Linked DNA regions of Homo sapiens: regions 2, 3, 4, 5, 6 and 7 are each linked to region 1. Evidence: promoter capture Hi-C in 16 types of primary human blood cells and fetal thymus (Javierre and others, 2016). All regions are on one chromosome and are shown on one strand. Each heading gives the region's core, a stretch centred on a gene start or on the middle of the fragment in contact. The rest is flanking DNA. Distances are from core to core; before and after follow the strand shown.

Region 1 (3,030 bases), core at 347-2,846:
CATCACAGTTAAAAAGTCACCAAAGTTCATTTTTCCTGTCCCTTCCTTATCAATTTCACTTATCATTTTCTTAATTTCTTCTTTCTTGGGTTCAAAGCCCAGGGCCCTCATTGCCACCTATAAAGAAAACAGGATCGTCTCAATAAGCACATCTAAAGTAGCAGGAGCAAAAATAACAGTGTTGAGAGCATTAAGCCAGCATCTGATGTGGTCATGTTAATATGATTGGGGAACACTATGACATTGATCTAATTGATATTTGCAATCAATTTTATTGAATAATACTCAAAGTAAGTAAAGACAGGAAAACAGCACAGTACAACCTCCCCTGTTACTTACTGCAGGGAGAAGAGGGCAAAAGGGGTAGAGAGGTGATAGGGAGATGACAAGGAAGAGGCAGAGGAAAGGAAGGGCAGTACGGCAGGAATGCACAGAGCTTGCCTTCAGTTCTTTAACATCTATGGTGCCAGTTCCATCCGCATCGAAAAGATCAAAAGCTTCCCGGATCTCCTGCTTTTGCTCTTCAGTAAGCTCAGGCTTAGGGCTCATTCTTTTTCGCTGAGAACTTGATGCCATGTTTGCCTTCTTAAAGTTGGAGGCCTTTATATGTTATGCAATACACAAGCACAATAATATATCATACAGTCCATATTTACATAACATAGTTACAGACACCCATATGTATTTTTAAAGTCATTTATATAACCAATTCCAAAGCTTTGCTTAAAAAGAAAGATAACAGGGTTTACTGGCAAGAACAATGAATCTTTCCATGAACTTCTACCCCTCCCTTTTCTTTACTGTTGTTTCTAGAAGCAGGGAGATCACTTGTTCAGTAAGGACACCTCTTACTGAAAATCATCCCAAAAGAGAGCCAGTCAAGAAGATGACTGTGAATAACTAGAGATAATCAGCTCTTCCCGAACGTGGGGATCCTGGTTCTGAAAACAGTCTTACGATGCCCACTCCCAGTACTCCCCTTCCCAGTAAGTACTCCGACTTCCCAATTACTTCTAGATTTGGCCAAATATTAGTAAGTTGTTAAGATGTATATTGTGTCAGTACCGAGTAATAAAACTCAATCCATCTGGCACCTTCGTGCCTTCTCCAAGAAGCTAAAGCATCCCCTGAATGCCCCTGTATTTAAATTGTAAAAAACATTGTAACAGAACACGATACACCTTTTCCCAGCTGTGTGTGGAAATTTTGGCAGAATGAGGAGGCCAGGGGGCCAAGGTCTGAGAGAGTCAGGGGCCTGTGAGGGATTCGAGTCTTTTTTGCCCAGGGAGGTTCACCGAGGGGATCAGGGAATGCAAGGGGAGCCCGAGGGGCGGGTGTGGGCCTGTTGTGGGTGAAGAGGAGGCAGCAGCGAAGCGCAGGCCCAGTAGGTTGGTTAGCGTCTGTACCCTACTCTCCCGGGAAAGAGCTCAAAGGAAAGACTGGTGCGCTAAAGCCGAGAAAGGCGCAGGAGAGGCGGCGTGGCCGAGCTGGGGCCTGGGAAGGGCTCAGCCGCTGGGCGTGGGGCGCGACAGAGCGGCAGCACTCACCATAGCCAAAGGAGTCCGCTGCCGGTTGTTAGGCAACCGACGTGTACACTGACTCGGCGCCGTTCCCACCGCCCCGCGCGCGCAGCCCCGCTCCCCATTGGCCGTCCGCTCGTCGCCGCCTCTCCCTATTGGTGCAGGGCCGAAGAGGGTGGGACTAACCTGGCAAAGCCCCGGCCCAGCGCGGGGAGGGGCACGCTGGCGACAGAGCCCCGTCTTTATTGGGCAAGATCACGCCGTGAGCGCCAATTGGCTGAGTCGTCGCCGAGCTGGGCCAATCCTCTTGGTGGAGGAAGCTCGGCTGATTCTCGGCTCACGCGGGAGGGGAGTAAAGGGTGGCGGTCCGGGCCTGGAGTTCAGTGGGTGCAGCCTGCTTGCGAGCTGAGGCCAGACAGGGGGGCGCCTACGGACGGGTAAGAGTCGTGGCCTTGCCATTGGAGGTCACCCTGTGTCAGCGACTGGGCAGTGCGGGAGGGTGGGGAGCTACGGGGTCGCCCGGGTCGGGTGCTTTCTGGGTTGACCTAAGGCTGAGTTTAGGGACCGAGTGCATCAGAGCAGCCAGAAACGATTACCTTGCGTGTTGGAGCAGGGACTGTACTCACGGGGCAACTGAGACCCGGAGAGGGGAAGGGGTGTGCTGAGTGTTGTCGCAGAGGTCGGACGGCTGGGACCTAGGAACTGAATCCAGCCGAGGCTCGCTCTTTGAGGGTGGCCCTTCGAGAGCACCCCTAGACTGACCCAGATGTATAGGCCCCAGACCAGGTTCCAAGAGAGGATCACTTTAGATCTTACCTGGCTAAAAGCAGCCCAGGACGGTGAACTGGGGCCTTTGGGAACGGACTTTGAAAGGAGTGAGGGGGATGTGAGCGAGCATGAGGGGCGGGGAGAGGTCATCAAAATATACTCTTTTTGACACCCACACAATGCAGATAAGGAGGAGCATTCCAGGCCGAGACGCCCTCATCAGCAGAGTCACAGGAGTTTTGGAAGTGAGAGGTATGCTTGGAGAATTAAAAGGGAGCGTGTGCAAGGGCTGTGGACTGACATAGACCTGCAGAAGTGGAGCTGGAGGTCCAGTTTGCCCTCTTTAGCTATCCCCGTGGCTTTTAGCCTTCACCTGTTTTTCCTCCAGGCATAGGGGCAGTAATCTAGGGAGACAGAGGGCAGAGAGTAAGTTTCTCAGACAGAGAAAGGCCCGAGGCTTATTAGAACCTTTTAAATGGAGCTGCTGCCCTTTGCCCTCTTCTCTCTTCAGCAGTGAACAGATTCCTGACTTTTGGGTCATCATCATCCCCCCAAGTAGTACGAGCCAGAGTTCTCACTGTGATCTCCAAAGCTTGGCACGACGTGTCCCCTTCCATCGCTCCACAACTCTTCTCTCGTCTGGCTCACTCCAGCCCCAGAACACTGGCTTTGTGGTTGAACCTCATGTGCCAGCCACACTCCTGCCTCTCATCTTTGTCTCAGTTGTCCTCTCCGCCTGCCT
Region 2 (3,030 bases), core at 158-2,657, 1.9 Mb before region 1:
TTGGGCTTGTTTTCTGCCCGGACCAGGATGTAAGCTCCATGAAGACAGTCTCAATTTTGTTCACTACCGCATCATCAGTTCCTAGAACAGAGCCTGGCACCTCTGCAGAATGTTAAATGGCTCTTCGTGAATCAACTCCAGGTGGGTTGCCCACATGAAAAACATTTCTGCATCTTTTGCAAAAGTGGCTTGGCTAGTACCATCCACTGTTTTCCAGTGTTCCTTTATGTGACATAAATCTTACTAGAACTCAGTACTAGGACAAAGTGTGTGTGTGTGTGTGTGTGTGTGTGTGTTTCCTGAGCTCACATATTTTCCACCAGCTGGGTTCGCTTCTATTGTCAGGAAGCTTGGAGCATAATTCACGTTCAATTACAGTGTTTCCCTTAATCCCTTTTTCTGATGGGGACATAGGATATAAATAAGTGTAAGAAGATTCTGTTGGTACATGTTTAAGACCCTATTTTTAACCACAGACTGCATTTATTCTACTAAGATGCTTCTCAAACTTGAATGTGCCAGAGAATCACCCGCGGATCTAGTTGAAATGCAGAATCAGACTCAGTAGGTCGGGGGCGGGGCGTGAGATGCTGCAGTTCTTACAAGCTCCCAGGTGATGCCTATGCGGCTGGGCCCTGGACCACATTTTGAGTAGCAGAGGGTCTAAGAAACGTGCTTCCTTGATTCAGCGGGATTTCTCTCTCCTGCTCCTTGGCAAAACATGACCAAAGTCTCAAAAACTGAAGCGGACGGCAGAAGCACCTAGAGAGCTGGTTAGACCTACGCCTCGCTGACCCCCCCCCCCCCCCCCCACAGCCCATGCCCGCTGTGATCCCGATGAAAGGGGCTAGGAATCCACCTAGGAAGTTCCCCAGGTGCTTCTGCTGTCGGTGGCCTCGCAGCAAATTTCGAAAATGACTGCTCTCTTCAAGGTTTTCTCAAAGGTAAACTCTTGGGGACAGCTGTTGTCACCAGTGGTACACCTGCTCGTTCAGGATTTTAGGGGGCCCATCCCGCTGTTTCCAGCCCAGCGTCAGGAGGGGACCCACCCCTCCTCTCCGGCTACTCCGACCGCGGCGGAGTCAACCCCCACGGGCCCGGGGCTCGGACCCCCGCCGCTCCGCCTCGCACAGCCGGGCCGGCCGGTGGCAGCCACCGCAGGCCCGAGAGGCGGGGACCGTGCCGCTCATGCGCAGAGCGACCCCTGGGCCCACAAGGCGGGGTCCCCGCGCGGTCCCCGCGCGCCCCCCGCCCGCCTTACCTCGCTGGACCAGGGTGGCCAAGGAGAAAGCGAGGCAGACAAGGAACGCCGAGCGCCAGGCCACCATGGCTGGGAGCAGGCGGAGGGCCCCGGAGGAGCACAGTTAGCGCGAGAGCGCCCGAAGGGGAGGCCGAGGAGGAGCGGGAGGAGGAGCCCCGCCGCCTCTGCAGGGTCCCGCCCAAAGCCCGCGCGCGCGCGCGGCGCGGCCCCGGGAAGATGGAGGTCGGGCGCGCTAGAGAGCCGGCGCCTGAGGGCGCCTGGGCTGGGGTTAGGCCGGGGGGCGGGGCGAGGCTGCAGTATCGGGGGCGGGGCCGCGTTCTGGAGGCGGGGCTCCGGGCGAGGGGCGTGGCCTGCGGGCACCCGGTGGGTGGGGAGGCCTGGGTTGGGTTGGGCTGGGTCCAGCGGCAGCGCGCGGTCCGCAGACCCTGTCCCACCTCGGTCCTCGAGACCGAAGTCTCGGAGGTGGCCCCGCGGACCTGGAGCAGTGAGTCACCAGTGCCGGGGAGCGGGAGGCGGCAGCGCCGGTGGGCGCCGATTTCCTCCCGGGTGACCTTGAGAAGGGCTCTTCCCCTTCTGGCCTTGGTGTTCTCCCGGTGAAGGGTTGTTCCCTTGGGGCCCCTCCAGACACCGTCCAGCACGGAGCCCCGCACTCTGTCCCCACCCGCTGTTCCCTGCAGGAGTGAAACCCTGGCCGGAGACTGAAGAAAAGGACCGTTTTCGTGACTGGCTGCGGTCAACAAGCAGTGACACGTCTCGAGAAAACGAGGCCGGGGGCGCCCGGGTGGGCGACAGGGGAGGATGGGGGCGTCCCGGAGCCGAAGCGCCGCGGGCTCGGGAGACTGGGGGTAGGGACTGGGTCAGCTCTCCCGAGGCTTTGATGAATGCGCTGAAAGTGCAAGTTCATATCTGCAGAGTCGATCTCAAAAACGTGCTTAATGACCGACAAACGCGCTGCAGTCCTTTCCCATGAACCCCCGCAAACGGAGTCCGTCTCCCAGACCCGAAGAAATCAGATTCCGATACGATACTGTGCCGACCAGCAAAATGCCCGCTGCAGCAGTTGATGGGAACGCTCCCTAGAAGAGCCCCAGCTGCAACCGGCTCTCGAAGACAAAGAGGAAGCGCTACTGCTCTCCGGAGTGGTAGCGTGAGCCTGTCCCTGCCATTATGCGGCACCGGCTGCCCAGGGCCACATCCTCCTTAGAGGGCGGCTACTACCACCTCCCCTCAATATCCATTCGGCAGCTTTCCTGTGCCCCCAACCCAGCCCTCGCTGCCATAGGCACCCCCCTCAGTGGCTCCCACCAACCCCTAAGGAACAGTGGGGTGTGGGGTCTCCCTGAGATGGAGCCGAAATCTCCCGTGTGGCTTACATCCATTGCCCTGAATCTTAGGGCTGCAGAAACAAAACAGCATATGAGGAGTGGATCTTCCCAGGCTCAGGGCATTAATTACTCTATGAATGGAACATTATTCCATTCTAGCTGTAGAATTAACAGAAATAGCTGGTAGTTATTGAACACACACTATACACATGGCATATTCCAGGCATTTTACCCTTAATTTTTATTCCTCACAATGCCTTATGTATCATCACCTATTAACGAGGGAAAAGCAGCAAAATGGAGGTTCCTTGAGGTTGGGGAGTTAGCCAGGTCTAGTCTCATGTGTCAAAGGGGGAGGGTACCACTAGGAACCCCAGCTGGTGAATGGCTAAGAATGTGTGCTGTAGAGCCAGACCGGGTACAAATCCTGGCTAAACCCAACAA
Region 3 (3,030 bases), core at 258-2,757, 1.8 Mb before region 1:
CGGCTCCTATACTTTGAAAAACATTGCCTGAATCCCCAAAGAAGTGACTAGCTCAAGGCCATACCACCAGCCAATGGCAAAGTGGAGATCAAGTCAAATCCCATTCATTCATTCATTCACTCATTCATTCCCGAAGCTTTAATTCTTTGCTCTAGGGTGTGTCAGGAGAGCAGAGGGAATGAGGGCCTTGAACCGAGACAGTGAAGAGGGTAAGAAGAAAAGTGTTATTCTTTGCCCACAAAACTACAATTTCTCACAAATTCTCTGCTCTTGCCAAATTTTGTTTTCCTCTTTTAGCCCGTCGGTTCCGCAATTTCGGGCGCAAATAAAGACCTTCTGGCATTTAGTGGAAAGAGCCTAGTTGAGCACGATCCGCAGAAGCGGAATCAGGTGGCTTTCGGATAGGCAGCGAGATCCGAGGACTAAATCCCGAGGTCTTGGCGAGCAAGCAGCTGCCCTCCGCCAGGCATCGAGGAGCGAGCTGCCGCCGCGTTTCTGTCGCGGCGCCGCGGCCGAACCGGGTAGAGGTGGTCTACCATCGGCCCTTCGTGGTGGGCCCAGGGGTGTTTCCCCGGGCAGGGGAGCTGACTGCAGGCCAGGGGCGCCAAGGCCGCGGTGCGGTGGGAGCAGAGGGCAGCGCAGCGGGGCTGGACTTCATCTTCCCACGCCAGAGGCCGAGGCCTCCGGGAATCGCAGGGCCACCTCTTCAAAGCCCTTGGCGATCCCAGTTCTGTTCCCCGAGGGGGCTGGCGAGGTGGGCGGGGCGGGCAGGCGAGACTAGGTCTTTCCCTGTTTGGCCTCCGTAGCCGGCGCCGGCGGGTCGTTCTGTTTGAATGAATGATCCCAGCAGCCGCGCCCAATGGGCGTCCACGCCTGCTTAATATGCATGAGGCCCGCAGCCAATGGCCAGGCGAGGAGGCTGTTTTAAACGGCAGAGCCCGCTGGCCAATCAGGCGGCTCTCGTGGAGGCAGCTAGCGCGAGGCTGGGGAGCGCTGAGCCGCGCGTCGTGCCCTGCGCTGCCCAGACTAGCGAACAATACAGGTACGTCTCGCACCGCCCGCTCCCGCCGCCGCCGCCGCCGCCGCCGCCGCCGCCGCCGCCGCCGCCGCCGCCGCCGCAGCGCCCGCACAACTTTCCGGCCCGCGCCGCCGTGAGCGCGCCCTGCCGCCGCCTCCCCCTGCCTCTACTCCCCATTCCCTTCCCGCCCCCTCCGCCTTCCCTCCTGCTAGGCGGCCGGGAAGGAAGAAGCAATTCAGGTGTTTCAACTTTTCCAACGCGTTCCCCGAGCTCCCCGCTTTCGGGGGTCGGCCCCCTCGGCGGACGCCCGCCCGTGGCGGCCCCAGGGGCCGCAGCCGGGAACCCAGGGCCCCCGAGGCCAGATGTTTGGGCAGCTGCGGCTGCGGCGGCTGGGCGAGCAGAGGGGCGGCTGCGGGCTGTGGGCGCTGGGCGGCGGCAGCGGGAAGGGGGCCGGGAGTTCCCCGGCCCGCGACGGACTCCGCTGGGGAACGGGCGGCCGGTGCCCGCCGGGGGCTGCGCGGCTGGTGCCCGCCGGGGGCCGCCGCACGGGCAAACTTCGCTCCCGGGCTTGGCCCGGCGCCGCGCGGGCCCGCAGGCTACGCCGCTGGCTCTGCGTTAACATGGCCGTCGCGGAGCGCCCGGTGGCCCGGGGGGGCGCGGGCCGGCCGCCCCCCTCTCGCCTCCCGCCCGCCCGGCGCCGCCGCCGCCGCTAACATGGCTGGCGCGGCGCTGGCCTCCGGCGAGGGCAGGGGAGGCGGGCGGAGCGGTCGGCGGGGCGCCCGGCGGGCTCCGGCCTCGGCCCCGGCGCCCGCGGCCCGGGGCGGGCGGCTCGGAGGGCCGGGGGCGCCGCTGCGGGCCCTGGAGCGGCCGAGCGTCATGGCTGCACGGGCGCCTTTGTTATCCCGAGGAGTGCGCCCCGCGCCGGGGGGCGGGGAGGTCCGGCCCGGGCCCCCGAGCCCCCGGGCGGCCCGGGCGGGGCGGGGCGGGGCGGGGTGGGGGCCGACGGGCGGGCGGCGGCGGCGGGGCCCGGGCCGCTTTGTTCGCCGCTGTCGCCGCCGCCCGCGCCGGCCGCGCGCGGATCAGCCATTTTAGCGAGTGGGACTCCGAGGCGCGGCGGACGCCGCCACCAGTGCCGCGGCTGCCGCCGGCCCGGCCGCACACCCCCCGCGCACCGCCACCGCCGCCGCCCCCGGCCCCGCGCGTCCCCCGGGGATGACAGCGGCGGATTTCAGGGGCACTTTCTTTCATCAGGAGGCTTTTGACAAAATGGAAGGTGAATTACGGGTGTCCCGGTGACCCGGCACGGGGGCCGAGGCGGGCTGCCTGCTGCCGGCCGGGACTCCCCCGCTCCCGGTCCCGCCCCGCCCGGGCCGCCGCTGCGGGTCTCTGTTGGGCAGCCTCCTGGGCGGCTGCTGCCAAGGGGAGCTCTTTAGTTTTACATGATGACCTTGGGTGTGGGAAAAGGAAAAGATGGCGGGAAGCTGGGGGGTGGGACAGGGACGATGACATGCCGCAGCTGCATTTTTATTTGGAAACTTTGGAGAAAGTGTTCTCGGCTGGACCTGCATTCTGGGTTACAGATGAGCACGACTAGCCCTTTTTATACACCCTCCCCCTTTAGATAGTGACGAAGTGATGAATTGAACTAATAGTACGGGGGTACCTGCTCACTTTCCAGATCTCCCGTGTTGTAAAGCCGTTTTTTTAGTAAGCCAAAACACATCAACAATAGTGACAATTTCAGATGTCCCCTACGTATAGTTCTCCTGCTTTGGTCTTGTGTTCAGCAGTGGTAAGAGTTGTTGTTTTTAATTGTGTTAACAGTTAGCAGATGACCAGATAGTCTTAAGTCATAGATTTCAAGCTTCTATCACCCCCACCAAATGTGTCCTCTCTCTACCCTTCCCACTTTGTGATTGTAGTTTCCAAAACATAGCAGTTCTGTAAACGTAACACTGAGTACCCTACTTGGGTCGGCTCCATTTGGAGCACTTGATCGCTTTTGAGAAGTA
Region 4 (3,030 bases), core at 158-2,657, 1.7 Mb before region 1:
TCCTTTGACCACTTTTTAATGGATTACTTGTTTGTTTGTTTGTTTGTTTCCTGTTGATTTGAGTTCCTTGTACTTTCTGGACATTATTATTCCCATATCAGGTGCATATTTTGAAAATATTTTATCCCATTCAACAGGTTGTCTCTACTTTCATTTGCTGTTCAGAACTTTTTTAGTTTAAGCCCCATTTGTTTATTTTTGTTTTTGTTACCTGTGTTTTTGAGGTCTTACCCCAAAATCTTTGCCCAGACCAATGTCCTGAAGTATTTCTCCAATGTTTTCTTCTGGTAGTTTCATAGTTTCAGGCTTTACATTTAAGTATTTAATCTATTTTGATTTTTTTATGTGGTGAGATATAGGGGTCTAGTTTCATTTTTCTGCATACAGATAGCCAGTTTTCTCAGCACCATTCATTGAAGAGACATCATTTTCCTATTGAATGTTCTTGGCATCTTTGTTGAAAATCAGTTGGATGTAAGTACATGAATTTATTTCTGGGTTCTGTTCTATTGGTCTATGTGTCTGTTTTTATGCCAGTACTATGCAGTTTTTGTTACTATAGCTTTGTAGTGTATTTTGAAGTCATAGTGTGATGTCTCCAGCTTTATTCCTTTTCAACAATTTAATTTTTATGTGCCTTGTGGTTTTCTACATGTTTAGTCTTCTTGGAGTTTGTTGAGCTTTTGATCTGTGGGTTTATAGCTTACAGTAAATTTTGAAAAATTTTGGCCATTATTTCTTTGAATATTTTTTCTGCACCCCCTTCTGAGTCCCCTAGATCACTGAGATTCTGTTTATTATTTTCAATCTTCATTTCATATAGATTTAATTGTTATGTTTTGAAGTTTACTAACCTTTTCTTCTGTAAAGTCTAATTAGTGTTACTCCTATCCAGTGCAATTTTCATTTCAGGTACTATATTTTTCTGCACTGGAAGTTCCATTTGGCTCACATTTTATTGCTTCTTAGTGTATCTGACAATTTTTTGATTGGATTCTGGACACTGTCAATGTTACATCATTGAGTGGATTTTATCTTCTTCAAAGACTGTGGGACTTTGTTTTGACAGAGAAGCAAGTTGTCTGTCACTCTGTTTTGTCTCTTTAAGTTTTGTTTTTAAGCTTTGCTGGAGGAGGTCCAGAGTAGCCTTTTCTCTGGGGATACCTCAGATTTATTACTAATGTATGATCCCTCTGGGGTCTCCATTGAATGACATAGATAACTACTGAGGATTCTTTACTCCTCTGGGCCAGAGTTTGAATGTCTGCTAGTCTTGTGTGAGTTCTGAGCATAGTTCTTTTAAAACTTCCCAGTTGTTCTTTGCTCACTCTAGTACTCAGTAAAGACCTAAGGAGAGCCCATGTCAGATTTCTGGAGTTCTTTCTCCATGCAGTTGCCTCATCTCTGGTACTCTGTCCCGCACATTTTAGCTACTTCAGCCTCCTTGAACTTTAATCTCCAATTCTTCAACTCAGGGAAACTTCTTTGCTCTGCTTGAGTCACTCCTCCATGCTCCAAGGTTTGGGCTTACCTCATTTCTTTCTTTATCTGTGATGCCATGCGTGTTGCCTCTTGTCTAGTGCCTAAAATTAGTTCTTTCGTATGTTGTATCCAACTTCCAGTTGCTTATGGTGGAAGAGTAATTCCAGATTCTGTTACTTCTTCAAGGCCAGAGATTTACTTTTATGTTTTCCAAGCTTTTTGAAATAAGTATAAATCAATTTTCTAAAAAAATATTAAAAATTACATTGTAAAGAAAAATGACATGCACACGTGTGCAAGACACCTACACCATGAAGAATATTCCAGAGCATAGGTTTGGCCCATGGGTGCTGTCTGTGCTCCTTCAGGCTTCAGACTCAGACCTATGCTTATAATTCCTGGAAATCCACAAATTCACCTCATGACTAATTGCTTTTCATTACTTGAAAGTATCTATGTGTTGGAGGAAAAATTTGGCTACAATCAAGGAAAGGTAGCAAGTTGAGTCTCATCTGGTTACTGAGATTGTGTACTTCTTATTCTTTCCAAATTCTTCAGTGGTGCCAAGGTCTCTTACGGACACTAGAGGGCGCTCTTTCACTGAGAATGACATACTCTCCCTTACCGATTGCCTCAGTTTGCACCAGCTCTAAGATGGAATCTTGCTGGATCTTAGTTCTTTAGTTGCAGCCCGGGCTTGCCCTGCCACAGGGCCCCAGGTGGCCTGTTCCCCCATCTCTGCAGTACCAGACCTATCCATTTCAAAGGCCAAATTTCTTTCCGCTCCTATCCCCACTCTCAGAATGATTCAGCCTGGCTTCCCGGGATACCTCCTAGCACCAGGGCTAACCTATTTTATTTCCTCTTCGCCAGTGGTCGCTGAGGAAGGAGGTCTGGGTCACTGGGTATTCCTCTTCAGGCTGAAAGTTTCTCTAAGGTCCATTATACAGATTTAAAATCAGAGAAATGGATTCCCCAACAATTCCATGTGCTTCAAAGCTTCTCTGGGGGTGCACCCAGGAACTGTGAGAAGTGACCCACTGGATCATCCTGGGACAAGTCTCTACCTGTATCCGGATCTTGGCCTCTTCATTTGTATATTGAGGCAGGTAGGTATGACAATGTCTAGCAAGAGCACAGGGAGAGCAGGGGTAGTGATGGGGGCTGGAATTTTTTTTTTTTTTTTTTTTTTTTGAGACAGGGTCTCACTCTGTCACCTAGGCTGGAGTGCAGTGGTGCTGTCACTGTGTTCTCAACTTCCCAGGCTCAAGTGATCCTCCTACTTCAGCTTCCCAAGTAGCTGGGACTACAGGCGTGCGCCACCATGCCCAGCTATTTTTTTTTTTTTAATCTTTTGTAGAGACAGTGTCTTACTATGTTACCCAGGCTGGTCTCAAACTCCTGCACTCAAGTGATCCTCCCACATTGGCCTCCCCAAGTGTTAGGATTACAGGCATGAGCCACCTCACCTGGCCTTGGAATTTTTCGTATGCAAGGAGTTAGCCTAATTAGACCTCTCCTGTCTGGAAAGAGGATAAGGAGAAAAAT
Region 5 (3,030 bases), core at 264-2,763, 1.1 Mb before region 1:
CCAGAGTAGCTGGGACTACAGGCATGCACCGCAGCATGCCTAACTAATTTTTGTATTTGTAGTAGAGATGGGGTTTCACCATTTTTTGGTCAAGCCAGTCCCAAACTCCTGACCTGAGGTGATCCGCCCGCCTCAGCCTCCCAAAGTGTTGGGATTATAGGCATGAGCCACCGCGACCAGCCTAAATTATTGATTTATATCCTACCTGTTTGCCAAAAGGATTAGGTGGCATATTATAAATGCACAATAGGACACTGGAAACATAAATAGAAAGCTGTATACCACATCGCAGGACAGAAGCATATGTGCTTAACAGCTGGGCTTCCAGGGTGCCTGTGCTTGACTGGCAATAGTGACGCTGAACTTCCTGGCAGCCTAGGCAAAAAGGAGGGCTCAATGGATTCCACAGTTCACGTGTCTTGCATCCAGTTAGTCATCAAACCAGAGCTTCTGCTTGGGGAGGGGAGCAGTGGGGTGATTGCTCCCAGATGTGGACAGCTCAGCAAGGGCTCTAGAATGTGTGTATGAGTGGGCGTGTGTATTGTGGGGAGGGACAGAGGGAGCAGTGTGCTGTGACCATGGTTTAAGTACTGGCTGGATAGCTCCTTAGCAGGAGAAAGGCTTTCTGACAATAGCTCACATTAGGGGCAACTCTTGTAGTTAGCGTCTCAGTGTCGGGCATCTAAATTCATGTCTTGGCACTCTACTGCCATGGGCTTTAATGCAAAGAGAGAAGAGAGGCCTGGTTCCAGAAGATTCCAGGTATCTTGCCTCTTTGTCTGGTGAAGATGAACACAGCGGGTCACCTGGGTTTGGGCCTTCTGATTATGCCTGGGAATATGAAGAATGCAGCATTGTTGTGCATGGAGGATGAGACCCTGTAGAAGATGTGTCCACTGAAGGTTGCTATAGGCTAGTCCCAGCAGGGCAGTGACTTTTGAGATGGTTGATGCTGTGTTAAGCTTTGTTTTCAGGGAACATGCTTGTCATTGGAGGTATCTGTGACTCACCATTGTGCTCAAAATTAGTTGTGAATTCTGGTCCTGCCACTGTCACTGTTGATTTGCTTAACCTTGTCTGAGCCCGTCTCTCTGGGCTGTATCTCCTCATCTATCTCTGAGGTCCTTTCCAATTGGAAGTTGCAAAGATTCATTGAGGGGAGCAAGGAAGGAGGAGCCTCAGCCTTTAGGAGCTTTCCTTTTTAAAAGAAAAAGGTCAACCCTTGGTTCTTATAGATGCTCAGAACATGTTCTTGGGGGAAAACGCTGAAAGGTTTGCTTTGGGCCCTACTGGGCCTGGGGAGGTCTCTGGAGAAGAGCTTGGGGCAGAATGAGAAGCAGCGGAAGCCATGGGTGGCTGCATGGAGGACGACGCACCCCACAAGGTGCTGCTTCAACCTTTTGACCACGCCAGTGGGAGGGGGGCACATCCCAGAGCCAAGAGTGTGCCCTGTAAATTTCTAGATGTGGTTTCACTGCAACTTTGCTTTTCTCTTACTCCAGAGAAGTGAGACCCTGCAGCTGAGGGAGCATCATGGCAGGTGAGTTTTTCCAGGCCTGGGCAGAGCCGTGGAGGGCCATGCCTAGGGGTTCATGAGTCAGGTTTCAAGTCCTTCCCAGCTTCCCTGCCCCCTACCCCCCAAGTGGGCCTGTAGCCATTTTCCAAATGGCTGAGTAGCAGTTTTGCCCTCTCAACTCTTTGGCTCCCTTCTGAAGTATATGTCACTTGTAGATGTGTACCTACCCAGGCTTCCCTGAGTGACACTAACGTGACAGGCCATAGGGCCTGGGGAAGGGTGCCTGCCTGCTGGCAAAGACATGCCAGCTTGGGCATCCAGGGGGAGTTGCTTTACATGGGAACCAGGAAGTCCCACCTCTAGGTGAACAACAGGAGCAAACGTCACCTCTTCTTTCATCCTTCACAGTCTCAACTTAGGCTTATGTGGGTGCAGAGCTCAAGCTATTCTGGTCAGCCTGTTTGTAGCTGGGTGTCTCTCTCTGGAATAAGTAGATATGCCCACCATCCAAAGACGGTATTGTAGGGAGATTCTGTGCCCCGTCTGTAAAAGCTTAGACTCTCCATCTGAACCCTGCTACTTCCCATCCCCAGAGGTGCTCTTAGGCTCGTGTATGCCCACTTGTCTGATCTAGCCTAGGCTGGCTTTGCATTAGACTTTCTTGAACAAGACTATTGATGCCAGACCACCTGGTGGCACAGGTGGATGTTCAGGTGGAGGAACACCACCCTGGTAGAGTCTTCTAGGATTATCTGGTATTAGTTCCACCAGTATCAGCCTTAAAGAGGAATACATTCTCATTGCAAGGGCTCCAACTTTCACTTTTCAAGGTGATGCAGAAGATACTGGAGCTTTAGTCACTGAACATTGCCTACTTACAATTCTTATTCTTTCTTGTTCCTGTGCAACGTGCACTTTCCTTGCAGTTGGCTACCATTTTCTTCCATGTAGCCAGGGACCTAAACCTTGTTGGGGCTGTGGTATTCTAGACAGGTGTATCATGGCACCATAGAATGTCAGCCCTTCCATCCCTTTCACAAAGGGCCGGCCATGTCCTTTGATCAGAAGCCTGGTGTCTTGCCTGCTCACTCGGCCTTGTTTCCCTGCATAATTATGCTTCAGTTGCTGGGCTGGGCCTGGTTTGAAGGAGCCCCTGGGCATCTCCCCATTCCAGGCCTCAGTAGGGCTCTCTCCTCAGTGTTTCTGGAGGCCAAGGATGCCCATTCGGTCCTGAAACGATTCCCTCGTGCCAATGAGTTCCTGGAGGAGCTGCGCCAGGGCACCATCGAGCGAGAGTGCATGGAGGAGATCTGCAGCTACGAGGAGGTCAAGGAAGTGTTTGAGAACAAAGAGAAAACGGCATGTACCACCCTGGGGCTGGTTCTGGGAGTAGGAGTAGCCTCAGGAATAGCAAGAACAGGCCCTGGTAATGCAGACCAATCAGAAGCAAGGAAAGACACCCAGCCTAAGGCATAGCCACTAGGGCCATCACGGAGCAGATAAAGTACGTACAG
Region 6 (3,030 bases), core at 186-2,685, 1.1 Mb before region 1:
ATGTTCTAGAAAAATGCTGGCCACATTGTTGCAAAGGATACTGAGCCATTTTGGAGAGGAGGTAGACCTGACTGTTTTAGGGAATCACGAATCCCATCATTCTGTAGCCAGTGCTTTTCACCACATTCAGATGGATGAGGGAAAATTTTAGAAAATGGTGGCTTTACTGTTACCACAGTGAAGTTTGAAAGTTACTGGGGGGCAATAAGGTTGGAGAGGGAGGGAGACTCGATTGCTGAAATGATTTATTGGGTGGCCCCAGTGAAGAATGAGAAAAAAAGCTTCCAGGTTAGAGGTTTCCTGGGAATAAAAATAAGTCAAATATTGAGTTGACTTTTTGTGTCCAAAGACAGAAGCCAAATCAAGTTGCTCCAGGAGGTCAGGCTCCTGCAAACCACTAATGTCCCTGAGACTAGGGGAGATATAATCTCTGGTTTAATTAAAGTTGACTACAAGGGCTAGAGGTAGACTGTTTGAAAATATAGACATTATATTGAATTTATAAATTAAATTTAGAAATTTAGAATTAGGAAATCTAATTTACTAATTCTATTTATTTATTAATTCATTCATTCCTTTATTTTTGAATAAAACAGTTAATGGAACTGCCTCTAGGAGAACCATAATATGCAAGGGTGAGAAAAGTTAATAATGCTATCCTGCTGACTTGGAAAAAAGCAGTGTGCCTTTAAAATTACATGGAAATTAAAATAACATTTTTTGAAATGATTAACAGAGAGAAGTTGGGACTTGGTGGGTTAACAACAAACTATGTTATCTGAAACAAACAAACAAATTCCAGCCATCAGCCATTCATCCTTATTTTTTGCCTTCAAATCTCTCAAAATTTTTTTTGTCCTTCTGATTCCAATTTATAGGAAAATCAAGCAATGGTCTGAAAATTTTTCTAAGAGACATCATTGATCAAATTATAGTCATGGGGTCTCCCTAATACCCATTATCTTTTTAATGCAATTTTTGAAGTATCTTAAGAAAATAAAATATTGTGACCATGAACTACGGTTCATAAAAAAGTTGCACCAATATCTGTGTGCTCCTCTTGAGAAAGATTAGTTATGCCTTATTGCAACAAACAGAGTGCAGTGGCAAAGTTCCTATGAAAATCCTTTACACAGAAATTGATCCACCTTCAGTTTGATGTTGTTACTTCGGAACAGAAGAGGGCTGCAGATATTTCTCAGGTGACAGGTGAGCCTTGGTTGTCTATTTTTTTGTAAGAATGAGGCAAATAGAAGAGCTAACCCAGTACTCTGTGCGCCTCAGTCAGGCCTCTCAAATGACAGGCTCTACTTCAGCAGGGTGAGCGGGTAAGGAACTGGCTGTCATGTGGGGCACCCTGAACCCTGCCAGAATGAAGACGGTTTTATTTTGTGTCACTTTCACCCCAGCTTTCTTATTCATTTGGTTCAGGTTTTGGCTTGGCGGTAAGTGCCTGGCTGCCAACCAGGAGTGAGAAGTGTGGATGACTGCTTCCTACATAGATCATTAGTTAAAGGCCCTGTTTTCCTCCCTCCCCTCCTTTCTTGTGATATGCCGCCATTGTCCTTGCAGGTCTAAGTCCTCTCTGGATGCTGCTGGCGGGGGCCTCCTTTGTCAGCTGAGTCCCATCTGCTTCCCATCCACAATGAGGCCTAGTTCCTCCATGGACACTTCCTAGATTCCAGAATTTTATTGAATTCTTTCATTAGCTGATGCCTCTTGTGTTGTCTTCTGTCTTATGGGTTTGTACTGTTTTACTGTCTTCACTGGCAATTAGTGGAGCCTTAACAGGAAGGAGTGTTAAATATGAGGGACATCGTAGTGTAATGGCTGAGAGTATAACCTCTGGACTGAAATGTCCTGGGTTCAAATTACTGCTCTGCTACTTCCTAGCTGTGTGACTTGGACAAGGTAATTAACCTCTCTGTGTTTCAGTTTCCCCTACTTTCAAAACGGGATGATAATGATACCGTTTCACAGGGCTGTGACGAGGAATCAGTCACTTAGTATTGGTAAGGGCTTAGAGGATGGCATGGTCCCTGGCATGTGGTGTGTGTTAAATAAGCAGCTTGTGAAACATTTCATCTTGAACTGGAAACCTAGAACTATGATTTGAGCCCAGGCAGGTCTGGCACCAAAAGCCACGCTCTTTTCCTCTATCCCCCACTGATGCTTCAAAGGCATCAGATGGCCCTGGCCCAAGGGCTCTGGGCCAGAGATGTACATGCTAGGGAGTTGTTGGCAGATGGATAAAAATGAAAGCCACAGGGATGGCTGGCTGAGCTTACCCAGAGGAGTTGCTGGTTTCCCAGTAGCCAGGGTTCTAGCCTTAGCCCTGACATTTACCACGCATCCTTGGAAAGTAAAGGCATCTCGCCAGGCCTCCATGGCCTGGGCTGCCAATCAAGGTTTTACGTTCTCCTTCAGTAGGTTGCTCAGCCTCTCAGCTAATACCTGCATGTGAAAGTTCTTGCAGAGGACAGGGACCCCTGTTACTGCTCCTCTTTTGCCACAGCCTGCCTGGATGACCAAGAGCTACCGAGGAGCATGGTGTGGGTGGGGTGGTGGCCAGCAGCCTGTGTGGGGTTCCCAAGCTTTCCTAGCGGCCTGAAGCTGCCAGCCCTTGATTCCAGAGACCAGGCACCATGTGATTCCCCATGGGGTGCACCATTGGCTCTGGGCAAACTGGAGAAGCCACTCATGTGGGGTTGGGCAGGCTACTTTACTGACCATTCCTTTCTTCAGGGGTCCCAGCTGCCAAAGCCCAGAATGCTGAGAGAATCAGGCCATGGGGATGCCCATCTCCAGGAGTACGCTGGCAATTTCCAAGGCATACGTTTCCATTATGATCGGTAAGAGCTGAGGGTCTGTGGGCCCTGGCTGCTCAGACAGGGCCCGGAGTGGGGCAGAGGGGCTGGTGAGCAGCCTGGCCAGGATGGAGTCATGAGGGCCTGGAATGCCTCCCTGTCAGAGACCATGAGTACCCTGGCTCCCTGCCCATTTGGGGCATCCCAGTGCTCTGCGGCCTAG
Region 7 (3,030 bases), core at 343-2,842, 1.1 Mb before region 1:
GAACATGGACAGAGAAGTGACTTGGGATAAATCGTGTTCCTGTCTATCTCTTACTCTGGGACCACCACTGAGCTCGAGACTGCCAGACACTTCTTTCTAAACTCAGCACCCAGCAAAGGACCTGGCACATAGTAGGTGTCTTGGGGATGTGTGTGAGATAGATGAGTGAATGAATGGGCCATGAACTGAAACTTCTAATCTTGGCTATATGATGAACTTGTTCCTTCTCTCTCTGACTTGACTTCTCTAGGAAGGAATTTTCCTCAAAATTCTTTCAATAAACTCCTTGACTAGGCTGGTTTTTCTTTAAAGTCCTGGGCTGGCTGCTCAACTTGTGGATAAGGAGAAAAGAGGCCTACAACTCCACCTTGACTGTGTTTGGACTTTTTACCAAATAATCATGCCTTACTCTAGGTTGTTAAACCACCCTCCTTGAGAATCCCACTGCTCATCTAAGATCTGTTGCCCATCTCTGTTCTCTTTGGTAGGTACATGGTCTGTCATCTTCCTTGCCAAGCCTTTTCTTGTCCTCGCACTTGTTTGGTATCTCCTGTCTGTCCTTGCAGCAGCTATTGCAAACGTTCTGGCCTCCAAAGTCTGCACCTACTGCTGCCTGGTGTCTCTGAAGATGAGATCCCCCCATCCCTCCCATTTCACTTAGAACACTGGGGTTTTGCAAGAGTGAATCCCTTCAACTGTCTTGTGGCCTGTTTCTCAGCAACCCCTTCCCATTGTCCTGGATTTGTCTCCTGTCACTTCCTCTGGTACCTGAACCTTCCCATTCCACCCATGTTTCATGGGCTTCAGCCTCAACTGGAGTGGCTCACAAGCACACATATTTTTATTATCTACTGAATTCCTCCTCAAAACCTTTAAGCTTGCTTTATTATCTTCTTGACATAGAAAATAACAGCAACAGCAAGACAGAGAACCTTTGTCAGCCCCCTATCCTCCTCCAGTTCCCACTCTATCTTTCCTCTTTTTCTTGCTCAGTCTCTTAGAAAGACTGAGCTATGTGCTCTATCTCTTGTCTGTCCCCTCCTACTCCTCGCTTGAAACTTCATGAAACAAGCTCTGTTTGACCACCACTCCTTGACGCTACTCTTGATAAGGTCCCCAGCGAGGCCTCTATTGTTCCACCCAGTGCCCGCTCCAGCTCTCATCTCAGGGGGAAGAAGTACCCGGCATAGAACACTTATCTTCCTGATATGGGAGGGGGGCATTGGCCTTGCAGACAGCTCCCTTCCTGAAAGTTCTGCCTTCCCTGGGAACTCCCTCATGTTTCTCACATCCCCAGCCTCATTCTCCTTCACTCACCCAGCCCCTCAGCTGTCTTTCATGGTTGCAGCTCCCCAGAGCTCTACCCTTAGCTTTTTTCTCTGTTCTCATGATATGGGGATGGACACATCCCCCTGAGAGCTTTACCTGTAATGTAAACCCTGGTGATCATGCGCCCACCTCCAGTCCAGACCCCAGTGAACACTGAGCCATCTGGAGTCCACTGCAGCAGGCCTGGAGAGCCATGTTGAAGGCTTGAGACCAGTCCAGGGCCTTGGGGTTGGAGGGCAATGGGTGGACAGAACTTTGACGCTTTTTGTGGGGACAATCTACTCAGGGCAGAGGCTGCTTGGATGTGATAAAGGAAACAAGGAGTTACGGTTGACACCAGGCTTCCAGCTTGAGTGACTGGGAAGAGGGCAGGCCCCTTTCAGAGGTGGGTAACTTTGAGGAGGAGCTGATTTGACATGATGGTAGCTGGAGCCTTGGGACTTGAGGTTTCCTGGAGAGGGTGTATACATGAGACCCACCAGCCCCACTGCCTTGTTTCCAGCAAGCAGCATGAGGGGGCAGTTTCTGGCAAAGGGGAGGGTGTGCAGGCAGTCAGGCTCAGGGACGGGTCTGTTTCCTGGTACAGAAGGAGCAGGGGTCATGGGGTGGGGGAATCTGCCTTTGTGACAGAACCTTAGAGAGGATGTGAACATATGCTGTGCCCCCAGCACTGGCCTGGCCCTGGATTACAGCCCTTTTGATCTGCCAGCTTCATCTTCAACACCAGCTTTTCCAGGAGGCCAGCCCTGAAACTCTGGTGCGAATGGCTCCGGCTTTGTTTGCATTGCCTGAAACTTTTTGTCTCCATGGTCTGCTGCCTCCAGGGTCCAAGCAGGGACTCAGTGATGCTGGTTCCTTTCCCTCAAGTGCCCTCGTTACTATCCTGGTGCCATAGTTCCGCAGAGAGCACCAGGTGAGCATCTCTGAGGCTGTTTGACGTGCCTGCCATCGCCATGGTGACAGCTTCAGAGGCTGGAACAAGCTTAGGCGGGGGTTGAGGGAGCTCCAGGGACAGCTTCCGGACTGTGGGTCCAGCAGCATGGGCTGTGGGAAATCTGGGGGTCATGCTGACCATTTCTGCCCACACCTGGTAGGGCATGCCAACCAGCCCTGGCAGGGAAGAGCTCCTCCAAGTATCTCCTGACTCTGTGGCAAGAGACACTGTGGGACACAATCTCCTGTCCCTCCTCTAGATTGTTACCTCCTCGGCTGTTCCTTCTCCATCTATTTTGTGGACACCTCATCCTCTGTGCAACTCTGAAATATTGGGGTTCTCCACAACTCTGCCCCAGACCCTCACTCTGTCTCCTCTTTCTTTGTGATCCCACCCACTCTCTCCATTGCTCCCCACATCCACTCCTCTGAGTCCCATTCAATCTCCTTCCCAGATAGTTCCGCACTCTGCCCTCTTGTCTTGGGCTCCATTGGTACTCTTGTCCAGCCTCCTCCCTGCCCCAACCTTCACCCTTGTTCTCCCTCTAATGCAGGCTCCACAGAGCAGCCAGAGGGATTTTTCTGGCACAGAACACTGACTTGTCCCTCTCCTGCTCTGCGCAGAGGAGAGGGCCCTCACTATCAAACTATCAAAGCTGAAACAAAACAAAACAAACAAAAACTGTTTAAGCCATCTTCCTGTGCCTTCGCTTTGCAGATGTCTGGCACATGCTTAAGCTGCCGAGCAGCTCCAAGGCAGCCACTGCC

Evidence for each region. Contacts are between HindIII fragments. The CHiCAGO score rates a contact against its expected background, and 5 or more counts as called.
Region 2: a contact is called between the fragment with the promoter of CD99L2 here and the fragment with the promoter of CETN2 in region 1, in 6 of 17 cell types (M1 macrophages, activated CD4 T cells, non-activated CD4 T cells and 3 more). The highest score is 8.1, in M1 macrophages.
Region 3: a contact is called between a fragment that was not itself captured here and the fragment with the promoter of CETN2 in region 1, in 4 of 17 cell types (naive CD4 T cells, activated CD4 T cells, total B cells and 1 more). The highest score is 6.9, in naive CD4 T cells.
Region 4: a fragment that was not itself captured here is called in contact with the fragment with the promoter of CETN2 in region 1 in 2 of 17 cell types (naive B cells and naive CD4 T cells); the score reaches 6.1 in naive B cells.
Region 5: a fragment that was not itself captured here is called in contact with the fragment with the promoter of CETN2 in region 1 in 1 of 17 cell types (M0 macrophages); the score reaches 5.1 in M0 macrophages.
Region 6: a fragment that was not itself captured here is called in contact with the fragment with the promoter of CETN2 in region 1 in 1 of 17 cell types (M0 macrophages); the score reaches 5.1 in M0 macrophages.
Region 7: a fragment that was not itself captured here is called in contact with the fragment with the promoter of CETN2 in region 1 in 2 of 17 cell types (M2 macrophages and endothelial precursors); the score reaches 7.0 in M2 macrophages.

Annotation. Positions count from the first base shown.
Region 1 is chrX:152,829,161-152,832,190 of GRCh38, forward strand. It overlaps CETN2 (centrin 2), which reads right to left and starts at 1,597. Exons shown (of 5, transcript NM_004344.3): 1 at 1,548-1,597; 2 at 442-600; 3 at 1-117. The coding sequence starts at 1,550. It overlaps NSDHL (NAD(P) dependent 3-beta-hydroxysteroid dehydrogenase NSDHL), which reads left to right and starts at 1,903. Exons shown (of 8, transcript NM_015922.3): 1 at 1,903-1,957. RefSeq lists a silencer at 1,497-1,836. The HindIII fragment of the contact is 2,163 bases long and covers 716-2,878 here.
Region 2 is chrX:150,897,261-150,900,290 of GRCh38, forward strand. CD99L2 (CD99 molecule like 2) reads right to left here and starts at 1,408. Exons shown (of 11, transcript NM_031462.4): 1 at 1,262-1,408. The coding sequence starts at 1,328. RefSeq lists a silencer at 1,083-1,692. The HindIII fragment of the contact is 7,642 bases long and covers 348-3,030 here.
Region 3 is chrX:150,982,335-150,985,364 of GRCh38, forward strand. HMGB3 (high mobility group box 3) reads left to right here and starts at 1,001. Exons shown (of 5, transcript NM_005342.4): 1 at 1,001-1,042. RefSeq lists an enhancer at 15-710 and a silencer at 832-1,031. The HindIII fragment of the contact is 2,746 bases long and covers 135-2,880 here.
Region 4 is chrX:151,149,787-151,152,816 of GRCh38, forward strand. No RefSeq gene overlaps it. Among named protein-coding and RNA genes, the nearest start is that of MIR4330, 17 kb to the right of the region's middle. The HindIII fragment of the contact is 576 bases long and covers 1,120-1,695 here.
Region 5 is chrX:151,697,282-151,700,311 of GRCh38, forward strand. It overlaps PRRG3 (proline rich and Gla domain 3), which reads left to right. Exons shown (of 4, transcript NM_001372163.1): 2 at 1,503-1,540; 3 at 2,715-2,875. The coding sequence starts at 1,534. Among named protein-coding and RNA genes, the nearest start is that of PRRG3, 3.3 kb to the left of the region's middle. The HindIII fragment of the contact is 1,106 bases long and covers 961-2,066 here.
Region 6 is chrX:151,718,650-151,721,679 of GRCh38, forward strand. It overlaps FATE1 (fetal and adult testis expressed 1), which reads left to right. Exons shown (of 5, transcript NM_033085.3): 3 at 2,746-2,852. Among named protein-coding and RNA genes, the nearest start is that of FATE1, 4.1 kb to the left of the region's middle. The HindIII fragment of the contact is 2,313 bases long and covers 280-2,592 here.
Region 7 is chrX:151,734,813-151,737,842 of GRCh38, forward strand. CNGA2 (cyclic nucleotide gated channel subunit alpha 2) reads left to right here. Exons shown (of 7, transcript NM_005140.3): 1 at 1-131. Among named protein-coding and RNA genes, the nearest start is that of CNGA2, 1.6 kb to the left of the region's middle. The HindIII fragment of the contact is 1,434 bases long and covers 876-2,309 here.